Linked DNA regions of Homo sapiens: region 2 is linked to region 1. Evidence: promoter capture Hi-C in 16 types of primary human blood cells and fetal thymus (Javierre and others, 2016). All regions are on one chromosome and are shown on one strand. Each heading gives the region's core, a stretch centred on a gene start or on the middle of the fragment in contact. The rest is flanking DNA. Distances are from core to core; before and after follow the strand shown.

Region 1 (3,563 bases), core at 882-3,381:
GGGAGGCCGAGGCGGGCAGATCACGAGGTCAGGAGATCAAAGCCATCCTGGCTAACATGGTGAAACCCCAACTCTACTAAAAATACAAAAACAAAATTAGCTGGGCGTGGTGGCGGGCACCTGTAGTCCCAGCTACTTGGGAGGCTAAGGCAGGAGAATGCCATGAACCTGGGAGGTGGAGCTTGCAGCAAGCTGAGATCAGGCCACTGCACTCCAGCCTGGGCGACAGAGCGAGACTCCATCTCAAAAAAAAAAAAAATCTTAAATTTCTATATAAGTTGTCAAACTATTTTTTCCAGTTTAATCAACTTACACTTCTACCAGCAGTATGAGAGCTTTTATCCCACTGCACAGTCACATAGGAAAAATGGTTTATGTAAAGGACCTCTCTTCTGTTATTTAATACCCATGAATTTCTTATATAGTTGTAATCAGCGAACCCATACTACTTTGGGTTCTGCTTATTTCACGGGGAAGGATTCTATATCTATCAATATAGTTCACATTCTAGCCATTTAAAATCATTCTTTAATTCTTCATTGTGTTAACAGATCCCAATAAGCTTGGCGATTTTCTTATTGTCAGGACTCGGGTTTATTTCCAGTTTTTGCTATTAAATTGGCTATTTCTGCATCTTTGCACAGTCTCCCCTACTTTACCAAGAGTGAAACTGCTTGATCAAAGAATAGAAAATGTTTTGTAGCTCGCATTAGACACTGCCAAGTTGTTGGGCAAGGTTTTTAAAAAAGGAATATTGGCTGTACAGAGGTGCAGCTGTGTGGACCATCATTCCTGAGCAGGGTCCAATAGCCTGGCATCTTACCTGGAAGTCAGGACATCTAAACTTCCCTATGGGAACTTGGTAAGCCCCTTCCCCATTTCGAACCTCAATTTTCTTATCTATAAAATGAAGAATTTGGATGGAATGAATTAATCCTTTTCTACCAGAAATCTAGCCATATTTCACCTAGTCTATTCTGTATCACCCTCTCCTGACTCCTACGTGCTCAGAATCTAGCTCAGTGCTTGGGACAGTTATGTTTCCTTTCCCTTTGAAGTGCCCAAATACCAGTGTAATGAGAAATATGGCAGAGCCTGAGAGTTCAGAGCACAGGCCAGGGTCAAATCTCAGCCCTCCACTTACAAGCTGTGTGACAAAATAACCTCCCCCGGGCTCAGTTTCTTCACTGTAAATTAGGTTAATTGTTCCAACCTCATAGGGTTGTTAGGAGAATTAAATGAGTTAAGGTTTGCAAAACGCTAAGAACAGTGCCTGGCACACAGTAAGTGCTTTATAAAGTGTTTGTTGAATAAATAAAATTTTGGACCTAAACTCTGGGTCTCTTCAGGACTGCAACAGCTTTGTAACTGGCAACCCCACTTTTAGGTGCGTTCCCACTCCTCTAAAACCCAGAGATCTAAATGCCAAATCTCTCTGCTTAAAAAGTCTCCCAGGGCTCCTAGGCGCCTCCAGGCTAGAACAGAAATGCCTCAGCTTGAAGACCCAGGCTTTTCAGGTGAAACACCTAAGGGTCAGGAGACGCTAGGATCATCACTCAAGGATCCCAGTGAATTTTTCCAAAATACAATAAAAATAAAAACAAAAAGAGGCAAACAGGGTTATAAAAATTGTGGGGCATTTTAAATGTTTCATTGAACAAATTAAAGCATTAACAGCCCTCCCCCAACCACCACCAAGCCCAAGAGACCGTAAATATGCTGTTCACAAGATAACTGCAACTTTCAAGGGCTCTCAGGCTGCTACTTCGGGCAGCACAATTGGCGGCACGACGTGGCAAGCAGGCAGTAGTTTCCAACCCTGGAGGGTCAGCGTCTGGAGACCCCGGCCAAGGCATCCACAGCCTAAAGATGATGTCCGCGACCGCCCGGGCAGCCTCGTGCACGGAAAAACCTCAACCCCGGCCCCGCCCACCCTTCCTGCGGCCACCCCGCAGCCCTGGCCCCTCAGTCCATTCACTCCTGCAGCGCGGCCCCGCACCCAGGGCCTGCACTAGAACCGCTGTTCCTACCGCGGCGCCCCCTGGGAGCCAACGCCGCGATGCCCGCCTGACGTCAGGAAGTCGAATCCGGCGGCGACGCCTTTAGGGAGCCCGCGAGGGGGCGCGTGTTGGCAGCCCAGCTGTGAGTTGCCCAAGACCCACCGGGGGACGGGATCTCGCTCCCCGCGCCACGAGGCTCGGCCAATGGGAACGCGCGCTGCGAGGCCCGCCGGTCTGCCCTGCGGTGCTGAAAACCCGGCGCGCAGGCGGCTGGCTCTGGGCGCGCGCCAGCAAATCCACTCCTGGAGCCCGCGGACCCCGAGCACGCGCCTGACAGCCCCTGCTGGCCCGGCGCGCGGCGTCGCCAGGCCAGCTATGGCCCCCGACCCGGTGGCCGCCGAGACCGCGGCTCAGGGACCTACCCCGCGCTACTTCACCTGGGACGAGGTGGCCCAGCGCTCAGGGTGCGAGGAGCGGTGGCTAGTGATCGACCGTAAGGTGTACAACATCAGCGAGTTCACCCGCCGGCATCCAGGGGGCTCCCGGGTCATCAGCCACTACGCCGGGCAGGATGCCACGGTGAGCGCAGCCAGGCGGGGGCACAGGAGAGGGCGGGACCGGAGGCTGAGTGCAGGGGAGACAGAGTTACGCACTCCGAGCCAAACACCGACTAATTCGGAGGAAAGCCCGGAGGCGCCTGATCATACCTGTTGCCCGGTGATTGGGTGTCCTGCGGATGCGGGATGAAAAGGCGGGAGAGAGGCCTGGAGAAGTGGAGTCTGGGGAGTGGGGATGGAGGCCAACAACACGCACACACAAACAAAGGGTCCCGCCTCCCTGCCGTGCATTCCATCTGCAGCCCCGAGCCTCAGGTCTCTGGGCGGGGACAGAACCCCGAGCTGGGTAGGCTAGGAGGGAGGAGAGCAAGGATGCAGGCCGCCTGGGGAGGGAGGGGGTCAGTGGCCAGGGGAGGGAGTCACATCCTGTCTCGATGGCTAGGAGAGGCAGCGCAGCCGCGTCTGGACCTAGGTGCCGGTCTCCACTCGCCAGCAGGAGCGGAGAGGGAGCAGGAAAGGAGCCCATTCTCGAGGATGGGGCTGAAACGGGAAGCTTGGGGAGACCGCTGCCTTGGGGACCCCTGCGTCGTGTGAAGACTGGAGGACGCGGAAGGGACAGCGCTGGCCGGGGAGGGCAAGCGGCCGCTGGCGTACATAAGGGATTGGGAATGGCATACACTTAGCGAGGACCCCCAGAGCTGTTCTCGAATCGCCGGGGAGGCCACTGAGCCGCAGGCCAGCGAGGTCTTCAGCTATTCCGCGGAGCGGACCGCTGTTTACGCTCTGGGGCGGTAGGCCCTTCGCGGGGTCCTGTCCCTTCTTCCCTTGGTCTCACTGCGGGGTCGGCGCGCGCCCCAGCCCCAGGCCTGCTGCTTCCCTTTCTAGACCACAGCCCTCAGAGCTAAGGCCCCGGCGCCTCTCTGCTGGGTTGGAGTCCTGGGGACTCAGTCCTAGGGACTCGAAAGTCGGGGCGTTCCCTTCACCGCGTTTCCCCCTTGGCGGCCAG
Region 2 (3,421 bases), core at 344-2,843, 250 kb before region 1:
TGCAGGCAGGAACATGGCCTTGACCCACACCTTGATTTCAGATTTTGGGCTTCGACAATCTCTATTGCTTTAAGCCACCACCTTTGTGGTACTTTGCTACCACAGCCCTAGGAAACTAACACATGACTCAAGGGTCAAGGATGCAAGATCTTGCCCCCAGCATCTTTGATCTTTCATTATATTCTTCCCTGATTCTCGGTTCCAAGCCCAGGGGTACAGTCCTGTGACCTCTACAGTGAAAAATCAATCACTTTGTCCAGCCTTTGTTTTATCTACCTGGTATAGGTCGCATTGTGTCCCCTCAAAAGATATATTCAAGTCCTAACCCCAGTCCCTGTGAACATGATTTTATTTAAAAATAAGATCTTTTCTGGCTGGGCGCGGTGGCTCACGCCTGTAATCCCAGCACTTTGGGAGGCCAAGGCGGGTGGATCACAAGGTCAAGAGATTGAGACCATCCTGGCCAACATGATGAAACCCCGTCTCTATTAAAAGTATAAAAATTAGCTGGGCGTGGTGGCGGGTGCCTGTAGTCCCAGCTACTCGGGAGGCTGAGGCAGGAGAATCGCTTGAACCCAGGAGGTGGAGGTTGCAGTGAGCCGAGATCATGCCATTGCACTCCAGCCTGGGCGACAGAGCGAGATGCTGTCTCAAAAAATATAAAAATTAAAAAAAATAAGATCTTTTCTTTCCTTTTATGTTTTAGTTTTTTTTGAGACAGGGACTCACTCTGTCGCCCAGGCTGGAGTGCAGTGGCGAAACCTTGGCTCACTGCACTCTCCATCTCCCAGATTCAAGAGATCCTCCTGCTCCAGCTTCCCAAGTAGCTGCAACTATAGGCACGCACCACCACTCCTGGCTAATTTTTGTATTATTTTGTAGAGACAGACTTTCGCCATGTTGCCCACGCTGGTCTCGAACTCCTGGGCTCAAATGATCCTGCCACCTTGGCTTCCCGTAGTGTTGGGATTACAGGCATGAGCCACCACGCCCAGCCTGGAAATGTGATCTTTTTTAGCTGAGTTAAAATAAAAAAAGAAATAGGATCTTTACAGATGTAACCAAGTAAAAATAAGGTAATACTGGATTCAGGTGGGCTATAACTTCTTCTTTGTAAGAAGAGAGAAATTTGGTCACAGAGGCAGAGACACACACAGAAAGAACACAGCCATGTAAGATGAAGACAGAATCAGGGTGATGCAGTTACAAAGCCAAGGAATGGTATGGATAGCTGGCAACAACCAACAGCTGAAGACTCCTAATTGAGGAAGGAGTCTTGCCTGGAAATTTTGGACTTTTCACCTTCAAAGCTATGAGAGAATAAATCTGTGCTGTTTTGTTTGTTTGTTTGTTTGTTTGTTTGTTTTGAGATGAAGTTTTGCTCTTGTTGCCCAGGCTGGAGTGCAGTGGCGCAATCTCAGCTCACCACAACCTGTGCCTCCCAGGTTCAAGCAATTCTCCTGCCTCAGCCTCCCGAGTAGTTCAGATTACAGGCACCCGCCACCATGCCCAGCTAATTTTTGTATTTTTAGTAGAGACGGGGTTTCTCCGTGTTGGTCAGGCTGGTCTCGATCTCCCAACCTCAGGTGATCCACCCACCTCGGCCTCCCAAAGTGCTGGGATTACAGGTGTGAGCCACCACGCCCGGCCTAAATCTCTGCTGTTTTAAGCCACCCAGCTTGTGGCACTTTGTGACGGCACCCAGAGGACACTAATACAGTCCCTAAATATACCTTCCTTTGAACTCCTCTGGCATGCATCAACTGTGTGTGCAGTTGGATGCTGAACTAACCATAGAGACCAGCATGTATCTTCCATGTGCTTCTCACATTCCCACCACCAGCTCACTAAGGGCTGGATGTTGTCGTTTGGTGTCTTGGCATCACCCACAACAGTTTGTGGAGTGCTGGTGTGAGAGAAGTCCCCTTGTAAGTTGAAATTGAATGAAGAATGGAAATATCAACAGATCAACTGCTAGATAGGGGCTACAAGGCAATGACTCAGATTCATGATAGATCTAGGGGTCTTTGCTGCCTGTGAAAGCCCTGAGTTGATACAGATTTGGGTTTAATTTCGGCCTTCTCCATACTTTATCTTTATCCCTCAAATTCAGGCTTTAGCTGCTGTTCTCCAATTCCTCCAAGGCTGGACACTGTGGAAAGAGTTTTTAAGGCTTCTTCTCTGCCTGATACTTCTGGTCTGAGTGCTGGTGAGGGAGGCACCAAGATGGAGGGACGTTAAAGGGCTTTGTCCTTGATCCTCTCTTCATTTGCTCCATCGGTAGGTGGGTATCCAAGTCTGGTGGTGTTCATCAGGGCCTTCCCAGGCAAAGGAGGAAGGAACATTGGAAGAGAAGATCAAGGGGGAGAAATAGCCCACAAGAAAGCAGAAGAAATAGGCTGGGCGCTGTGGCTCATGCCTGTAATCCCAGCACTTTGGGAGGCCGAGGTGGGTGGATCTTCTGAGGTTGGGAGTTTGAGACCAGCTTGACCAACATGGAGAAACCCCATCTCTACTAAAAATACAAAATTAGCCAGGCGTGGTGGCAGGTGCCTGTAATCCCAGGTACTCCGGAGGCTGAGGAGGAGAATCACTTGAACCCAGAAGGCAGAGGTTGTGGTGAGCCAAGACCAGGCCATTGCACTCCAGCCTGGGCAACAAGAGTGAAACTCAAAAAAAAAAAAAAAAAAAAAAAAAGGAAAAAAGATAGCAGAAGAAATAGAAAGCTCCAGGGAAAAGTGAAAACTTCAGAGCTGGTTAGTTGGTGTGACATTATGATACATATGTATTGGTTCTCACCCATGGTTTCTGGCTCATAACTCCCATAGCCCTTGTCATAGTCTTTTGTGATAATATTGGGGTGTTTTAGGCCTCTGACCCAGCCTCAGAAAACAGAATCTCTCTCCCTGACCTTCTCCTGCCCTCCTTTTACCTGCTCCTTTTTCTCCCCAAGGCAGTAATCATTTTCCTGCCTTTTTGTCTAGGAGCTAGCCCTAAAGAAATTCCCCAACCTACCTCGCCTAATTGTAGGTTACAAGACAACCATTCCAGACAAGATCCTGCCCCATACCCTGGAGGAAGGACAGCTGCACAGAGAGGTCAAGAAGAATCTAGATAGACAGGCCTTGCTGGCATTCCTGAGTCAGTCCATTAGCCTTTGATCAATCCCTTTTGGTTCAATCACATTTCTGCATGGCTGTCCATGCTTCAATCATGTCTAACCAATGAAGTCTCCATAAAAAGCCAAGGAGGGGCCAGGCGTGGTGGCTCACACCTGTGCTTCCAACACTTTGGGAGGCCAAGGCGAACAGATTGCCTGAGGTCAGGAGTTCAAGACCAGCCTGACCAACATGGTGAAACCCCGTCTCTACAAAAAATACAAAAATTAGCTGGGTGTGGTGGTGGGCTATCTGTAATCCCA

The links. Contacts are between HindIII fragments. The CHiCAGO score rates a contact against its expected background, and 5 or more counts as called.
Region 2: a contact is called between a fragment that was not itself captured here and the fragment with the promoter of FADS1 in region 1, in 4 of 17 cell types (neutrophils, naive B cells, naive CD4 T cells and 1 more). The highest score is 11.6, in neutrophils.

What each region holds. Positions count from the first base shown.
Region 1 is chr11:61,815,571-61,819,133 of GRCh38, reverse strand. FADS1 (fatty acid desaturase 1) reads left to right here and starts at 2,131. Exons shown (of 12, transcript NM_013402.7): 1 at 2,131-2,579. The coding sequence starts at 2,205. LOC124902680 (a long non-coding RNA gene) reads right to left here and starts at 1,114. Exons shown (of 2, transcript XR_007062696.1): 1 at 1-1,114. It also overlaps a transcript of FADS2 not described here. RefSeq lists silencers at 1,770-1,869, 2,210-2,409 and an enhancer at 2,930-3,563. The HindIII fragment of the contact is 2,548 bases long and covers 565-3,112 here.
Region 2 is chr11:62,064,062-62,067,482 of GRCh38, reverse strand. The region is part of intron 1 of LINC02733 (long intergenic non-protein coding RNA 2733); the gene reads left to right. Among named protein-coding and RNA genes, the nearest start is that of LINC02733, 17 kb to the left of the region's middle. The HindIII fragment of the contact is 8,726 bases long and covers 1-3,421 here.